Linked DNA regions of Homo sapiens: region 2 is linked to region 1. The links are contacts of gene promoters, found by promoter capture Hi-C in blood cells and fetal thymus (Javierre and others, 2016). All regions are on one chromosome and are shown on one strand. Each heading gives the region's core, a stretch centred on a gene start or on the middle of the fragment in contact. The rest is flanking DNA. Distances are from core to core; before and after follow the strand shown.

Region 1 (4,244 bases), core at 1,190-3,689:
CAATGTTTTCTAGTCATAAAGTTTTGTATTTATTTCTTGATGTGTTTATTGTATGTTCCTTTTTGAACATAAGAAAGATAAGACATTATTTTCTCCTCCAGGTTTGCCGAGAAGTGCTTGTGGGTGAGCTGAGGGTAGGGCATCTGTGGCTCAGTTTTCAGGCTATGGAGGAAATATCTGCTGGGCTGCTATTTCCCTGCATAAGTTCTCATTGCGGGAGGGAGCAGAAGGTAATTTCAGAAAGAGCTTGTGCTGATCTTTCGAACTGTTTCTCCCAAATTCTGGAGTATCCAAAGAAAGCAGGGTTATCTGCCAGAATGTATCAGAAAGATAGCAGGCATGTGAATTCTACATTAACTATAGGGCATAAGAAATTTCATGTTTCTTTTATTACTTTAAGCTAAATTTGATATGCCACTGTAGCCATCCTGCCAGGATGGTAGGAAATTCAGTTGCAGACTTTCCTGAAATGCCCCTTCCTCTCAGTTCCTGTGGCCACTCGCCCAGATCGTTTGGATAGAGTCCTCTGGTCTTCGGTCCACAGGGGTGACTACTGATGTGCTCATCTGCTAAGTCCTCATGCTCCTGGGAGGCTGGTGGCTCCACCATTCCTTGGCAGAGCTTTGCCATTGCTACGATTTCTCCCTGAGGCCCTGTCACCTCCCGAGGGTTGCCAGAGAAGGAGAGCCTCCACACCTGGGATCACAGCTCCCTTCCCTTCCAGTCCCGGGGAGACACTAGAATCCTTTGAAGGTTCCCTTTTCTATCAGGACTGTCTCCTTCTCCACCTTTTGGAGAAGATGAAGGGTAATCTCCCTTGAGAGAGCCTGTGGAGACACAATGATGGCCTCTGTTCTTTAGGAATGGGGAAAAGATAAGTTATCTAGGTTAACTGGGATTAACTAATTCTGTTACTGAGCTGGGTGACAAGATGGGATTGGGGAATTTGTTTGGGGACTCAGTGAGGACATGCAGGAGACAGATTCAAAGAATCACATGTGAAATGGACAGGGCTCTGATCCCTCTAAAATATCTGTTGCTTTCCTTCTTCCACTTCGACCCCTATCCCCCATAATTCTTCTGTCTTTTTTTGGAGACAGAATCTTGTTCTGTCACCAGCCTGGAGTGCAGTGGAGCGATCTTGGCTCACTGCAACCTCTGTCTCCTGGGTTCAAGAGATTCTCCTGCCTCAGCCTCCCGAATAGCTGGGACTACAGGTGTGTGCCACCACGCCCAGCTAATTTTTGTATTTTTAGTAGAGACGGGGTTTCACCAGGTTGGCCAGGATGGTCTCGATCTGTGGACCTCGTGATCTGCCTGCCTCAGCCTCCCAAAGTGCTGGGATTACAGGCGTGAGCCACTGCTCCCAGCCAATTCTTCTATCTTTAAAAGGTAACCCAGGTTGGGAGGGAAGGCTGGGAGCACAGCAGAAGACAGAACTGCTTTGTTGAGCCCCAGAACCGGCAGCGGATACTCCCTGCCAATCACATGGCACTCACCTCTTTGTGTAAATTTAGAAGGTGCTTGCCCAGGAACAATCTGGCTTGACTGTCACAGCCATCCTGCAAGGTAAGTGGGGCAGTCGTTAACCCCATTTTCCAGATAAGGAAGCTGAGGCTCACATTGATTAAAAGACTTGCCCAAAGTAACCAAGCTGTTGAGGGGCAAAGCAGCAGGACATAGCATCCAGGTCTCTTGACTTTTGCTTCAAGAGCCCACAGCCACACTCGGTGCTTAGATGAGGCTTTGGCTTATCAGTGATTTGTGATGTTTGCCTTTTGCCAAAGAGGGGGATGGCTGAAGAGCTAGTGCCCTGACATTCTGGACTCTTGCCAGTAGATTTTGTCTGACTCTTGCTCTGATGCTATTCTTTGTTATTTTCAGGAAGGGGAGCTAGATGTAGAATACATTTCTTTTTCTTGGTAACGTGAACAGCAAGAAGCAAGTAGAGTACATTTCTTATGAGAGAATATGCTCGGGACTTTGATTCATATCTGGTGGGTCCCAAAAGACCAGGGTACTGCAGATTTAAGACCATGTTGCAAATTCGGCATGCATTCAATAGGACTACCTTAGTGAGGGGAGTAATTTTATAAAATTATCAATTCAGTCTCAAAGAATAATAGCAGGAAATGTATTTCTGACTATTTAGAAGTGACTCATTGTGGGACTGTTTGAAAACTATATTATTTTTATCAGTAAATAGAATTGCCTATAGTCAATGTTATCTCTTCACATCCAGGGATTCTAAGATCCGGTTACCCATTTCCCTCAAAACAGCAGATAGCAAAGCCAGGGAAATGAAAACCCACCAAACCTTCTGCAAGGCTGACACCACCCCTAAACCCCACTGCAAACTGATAACACCACACCCTCCTCTGCAAAATAACAGAGGGGCAGATAAGATGAAAATTTTCATTCCAATTAGCAATCATTTCCAGTCAGTGAAACGGCAGAATCAGAAGAGGTTCCACAACCAGAAAATCTTGGCTGGAATTTCACCATCAGGAATAAAACAGAAAAACTAAAAGAGTGCCCCAGATAGCCTTTCTTAGGGGCCTGTGTCAGGTAAGTGCTTTTGAATATTTAAAACAAAGGATGGCTAAGAGTTCTGCAGTCATTTTCCAGTTAAATATCAGATGGTATAAAATATTTTTATAGAAAGTACAGGCCAGGTGCGATGGCTCACACCTGTAATCCCCACACTTTGGGAGACCGAGGTGGGCAGATCACTTGAGGCCAGGTGTTCAAGACCAGTCTGGCTAACATGGCGAAACCCCGTCTCTACTGAAAATACAAAAATTAGCCTGGCGTGGTGATGCACACCAATAATCCCAGCTAGGTCAGGAGGCTGAGGCATGAGAATCGCTTGAACCCGGGAGGTGGAGGTTGCAGTGAGATGAGATCGAACCACTGCACCTCCAGCCTGGGCGACATAGTGACACTGTATCTCAAAAAGAAAAAGAATTCATAATCCACTTTTCATTAGCTGGTATTTGGCCTTACCAAGGTGAAGCATGAAAATGAAATTCTATCTGTATCAGCCAGATTTTCTCAGACACATGTATTCACTGCATGACGGACCCTGGTTTCCAAATTGTTAAGCATACCAGACTCTAGTGAATGCCCTTCCGAAAGGGCCATCATGCAGCAGGCCTTCCCATCGGAGAGCCATGGTCCCAGCCAAGGCAGCTTTCAGGGGTTGCTCCACCACTCTAGGGAGGCGGCCCAGATCTGTCTCTCCCAAACAGTGTCTGGGTTTGACACTTCCTGAGAAAGCAGAGATTGTTCCCTTTGTATGCCATGGCTCTGGAATGCAGCTCTTCCTGTAAGGAAGACAATGGTCTTTATGGGAAGGCTAGGACTTGAAGGAGGTAAGATTTGAACGGCAGAGCTGGGTGCTAGCTTTCCTGCTGAGGGAAATGGTGGGCACAGAACCCCCGCGGTGGGCAAGCTGGGGTGTGGGTGTGCCTGTGGGCTGGCAGGTGACTCTGCCCGGAGCATCGCAGGGGTGGGGAAGAGATCAAGGAGGTAAGAAAGGTAGTCTAGGGGGAGGGGCCCAGAGTTTTGAACACCAGACTTAGGAATCTGGGACATACGTACTGGCCTTTGCCATTCAAAGTGTGGTCCTGGGACCAACAGCATCCTTGGACTTGAAAGCTTGTTAGACACGCAGAAGCCCGGGCTCACCCCAGGCCTGCTGAATCACAACCTGCATTTTAACAAGACCCCCAGGAAATTTCTATCCTCCTTCAAGCACTGCTCTAGGCTAAGAGGAAGCAAGAACAATTTTTAGAGCTGGGGATAAAGTGATGGGAGGAGTGTTTGGGAATGAGGCCACTAGAGTGCTTAGAGAACACTCACTTGGGAGCCCCACAACAATGCAGGCGTGAGTGAAGGAGGGGGGTGGGGGGCTGCGAGGGAGACAGGTTTTCCCCACAAGCCACAAGGCCCGAGGCACGCCTCCTGCCCTGCCTCCACCTCAGGTCGCAGGAATCTTGTTGGTGATCCATCCAGATGTTGTGTGTTCTGGAAGTGGACATCGCGGCTCTGTGTTTTTGAAGTCAGATCTCATTGCTGTGGTTTCTATGCCTGACCCCCCGAAGTTCTTGCTCCTGTTGCCACAGGGAGCCGGGAGAGCACAGAGCGCTGCTCCCGGTGCCCTGCAGCCACACAAACATGCTCCTGCTCCTGGCGGAGGCAGAGCTGCTGGGAAAGACATTTCGGAAGTTTCCTGTGGCTGC
Region 2 (3,898 bases), core at 374-2,873, 540 kb before region 1:
CCCATAACTTCCATTAGCTGTCCCCAAAAGTGTATTTCCTACCTAGTTATTACGCATGAAATCTCTCGCATAATATGAAGTAATTTCTAATACCCCCAAAAGTAAAAAATGTGAGAGGGATCTATTTTCAATTCTTAGGGTTCCACGAGGGAAACAGATGTCTTTTTTTCCCCCCAAAATGGAGTCTGCAGCACCTCCTCTGTTTTTCCCAAGGTGTCCCAAGCTGTTAAATATTATCTTAGGTCCTCTCGTGTGCATCAAGAATGTCAAGAAGACAAAATGGAGAAAATTCAGTTGACTGAGAAGAAAAAACCCCTTTTCCAGAAAAACACAATCCACGAAGAGGAAAAAAAAACATAAAGGCCTTTAAAATGTACGTATAACTTGGATATCTGCTTTTAAGTAAGCTGACTTTTAACCATAGTGCTCCTTAAAAAAAATTCCTTATAAACCTCTTATTACCCTACTTTAACCAGGCCAAACAGACAATATTTCTGGCTTTTAAATGTTACCAAAAGTAACCTCACAGGTGAAACCAATAAGCCTTAGTTACTAAGCTACAGCACTGGACAGTTTCCATTGCCCTTCCCAGAAAGAGCCTAGAGCAGTCAATTTTGAGCTTGCAAAAGCTTTTAACTGCTTGAGATAATTTTTAGAGCTCTGACATAAACTCCAAAATTCCTGTCCTCCAGATGGCTGAGAACAAGAGAAAGTACTGCCACGTACTTAAAAGGTCAAGCTCCCAAGGACATAAAACAAGACAAGCGGGGAACCTCATTCAGTTTTTTTTTGTTTGTTTGCTTCAGGAACCTGCAGCAAAGTTTGTAGCTGACTAGTTTGCTGGGCTAGCTTGAACAGCAGGCTTGTTCTAAGCCCATGTGTCCTAAGCCCATGTTCAATCTTAAGGTACTCCTCTTTATGACAGAATATAGTAAAAAACATTTATAGCAGAAAGTTCCCCAGAGTTGCTATAGCTTAAGACCAGCCTCACAAATCCTTTTTCTCATTAATTAAAATATTGCAAGAGGTAGTGATTTTTACCACACCTATAAGCAGTTTGCACACAGAGAGAGAGAGAGAGAGAGAGAGTGAGAGAAGAAAGGCAAGGGAAGGGAGAAAAGCATTGCCTGCAGTGGGGTGGGAAGACGAGGAGCTTAGGGGAAGCTAGAGAAAGACCCACCATTGCAGTGACACTAAACAAAGTTCAGGTGGTTGCTTGTAATTTGCTAAGGGATCTTTTCCAGCAGTCCCATCAGCTTTCAAGTTTCCCCTTTTGGGGAGAAAAGAAGCTCCCCATGTCCGGTGATCCTGTACATGCCTAATCCCCCCACAGCCATCAGCAAAGAGCGCAAGGCAGATTAATCCAAAGAAAATAGTGGTTAACATCCCATAATGCCAAATTCATTTTTAACCAAGAGATTTTACTGAGAGGGGCCTCTAACCGCCTAAATCTTAAGAAGAACTCTAACCTTCCTAAGTTGGGTCTCGAACCCAAATTTGTCGAGAATCCTTACTTTTTATTAAGAGGGTCATTTAACCCATTCTGTCTTAGGAGAGACTTTAAATCTTCTAAGTTGGGCCTCTAATCCACCACTTAACCATAGTCGGCCAATGGGTTCTGCATTCTGTTTCCTTTGGGTCAGGAGTCTCCTTCGTATCGTTCTTTCATGGTTCACCAGGAGAATGTTACTGGAAAGGGGTCCTGATCTAGACCCCCAGACAGGGTTCTTGGATCTCAAACAAGAAAGAATTCAGGGCAAGTTCATAGAGTAAAGTGACAGCAAGTTTATTAACAAAGTAAAGGAATAAAAGAATGGCTACTCCATTGGCAGAGCAGCCCTGAGGGCTGCTGATTGGCTATTTTATGATTATTTATTGATTAAATGCTAAACAAGGGATGGATTATTTATGAGTTTTCCAGGAAAAGGGTGGGCAATTTCCCCAGAACTGAGGTTTCCTCCCCTCTTTAGACCATACAATGTAATTCCCTGATGTTGCCATGGCATTTGTAAATTGACATGGCACTAGTGGGAGTGTCTTTTAGCATGCTAATGCATTATAATTAGTGATAATGAGTAGTGAGGACAACCAGAGGTCACTTTGGTCGCCATCTTGGTTTTGGTGGGTTTTGGCTGGCTTCTTTACTACATACTGTTTTATCAGTAAGGTCTTTGTGACTGTACCTTGTGCCAACCTCCTGTCTTATCCTGTGACTTGGAATGTCTAACCTTCTGGGAATGCAGCCCAGTAGGTCTCAGCCTCATTTTACCCAGTCCCTATTCACGGTGGAGTCGCTTTGGTTCCGATGCTTCTGACAAAGCTATGAATGAACATCTTTTTACATAAATCTTTATCTACATTTCTGATTATTTCCTTAGGATAGAGTGGAGAGGTTGAGTTATTAAGTCAGACACTTGTAAAATATTTTTTTCCAATATGAAAGTAGCTTTAGTCCTTAAATACTGTATAAATTGCAAAAAGTTCAGAACTTAGGTAGAAGAAAGTAAGACTCCAAGACTTGTACATTTCATAAGAAAGCCCACTTTCTAAGCCTGATGTCTTTAATGTATATTTAGTGTGCACCTTTCCAGTAGTGAGTGGGTGATTCTTTTAATTGGAAAGCTTCCCTGGAGTTGATGTTATTTAAAAAAGAAACCTAAAAATCCTTGTTTTCTACTTTCCTCTATTTCATATGGCATCTTATGGAATTATTGTTTGGTATTCATGTCATGTCTCAATAAAGGAATTAAACAAAACTAAAGCCCAACACAGTTTTAAGCAAATGTGTTATTTAAATTATGGAAAGGCAGTGGGAGAAGAGGTGTGCAGTATTTTGTGTGTGCGTCAAAATGAACTAACACTAGATGGCAGTCCTCTATAACTTTTGGCCTTAGTTGCTGCTGCTTTAGAATAAGGTATGGCAAGAAATCACTAATGGAGGAATGTTGATCCCATAATAATGCTTTGTCTTTTATTAAAAATAAATGTAACTTCTTTGAGTTGCACAACAGGGTGGGTTTTTAAAAGACAGTTAATTATAACAGATAACAGAATATAATATAAAAGCGCTTTCTAGCTGTGCTTCTCAAACTTTTAACTTTTTTAAAACTTTTAAGTTGCATTTGAATTATAAGGGGATCGTGATTAAAATGCGGATTCTTGTAAGTCTGAAATTGGACCTTAAATGCTGAATTTCTGACAATATTCCAGGTAATGCTAAGCTGCAGTGATCTAGAGGTGTGCTATAGCCCTATGTCTGCAAAATGCTTATTTTGTATCAGGCAGTGTTCTAAGAGCTTTTACAGGTTGAAAAAGTAACTGTGAGTGGTGGAGGGAGGATTTCTACCCAGCCTGTCTGCATCTAGAGGCTTCTGGTATTAGTCACACTAAACTGCCTCCTTGATTGGGCTGTGAGTGAATTTACCTCCTCCCCCATTCAGAAAAAACTTTCCTATCAGAATGGAGTGTAGTTTGGTTTGGCTAAAGTTAAGTGCATATCTTTGATTCTTCATAGATTATGGGAAATATGTTAACTTCTGGGTCGTATGTTTGCTTTTTCAGTTTTATTTTTCTGGTTGGTGCTTTGGTTTGTAAGAAAAGTCCAAAAAAATTTAAAATTCCTCCAAAAATTATAATATTAATTGGTTGTATTGGGCTTTTATTTATTTATTTTTGCAGAGGGGAAGTGTGTTTGAAGTTAAAAATGTTCGTTGTTTTTTAAAATTTAAATCCAAGCTGCTTTTTTGAAGGAATATGTGATTTTGGGTTCTAAAAAAATATTAGTTTATCTTTGTTTTTTATGCTCTTGACAAATTAATGCTTGCAAAATTTAGTGAGTAGCATAAGCATAGACAAACAAGTTACAGTTTGGACATATACTAAATCAATTTTGAAAAGG

What was found. Contacts are between HindIII fragments. The CHiCAGO score rates a contact against its expected background, and 5 or more counts as called.
Region 2: a fragment that was not itself captured here is called in contact with the fragment with the promoter of FLJ20712 in region 1 in 1 of 17 cell types (erythroblasts); the score reaches 5.3 in erythroblasts.

Annotation. Positions count from the first base shown.
Region 1 is chr7:33,723,542-33,727,785 of GRCh38, forward strand. FLJ20712 (a long non-coding RNA gene) reads left to right here and starts at 2,440. Exons shown (of 2, transcript NR_165282.1): 1 at 2,440-2,568; 2 at 3,987-4,244. The HindIII fragment of the contact is 5,749 bases long and covers 1-3,658 here.
Region 2 is chr7:33,183,033-33,186,930 of GRCh38, forward strand. The region is part of intron 5 of BBS9 (Bardet-Biedl syndrome 9); the gene reads left to right. Among named protein-coding and RNA genes, the nearest start is that of BBS9, 55 kb to the left of the region's middle. The HindIII fragment of the contact is 1,993 bases long and covers 628-2,620 here.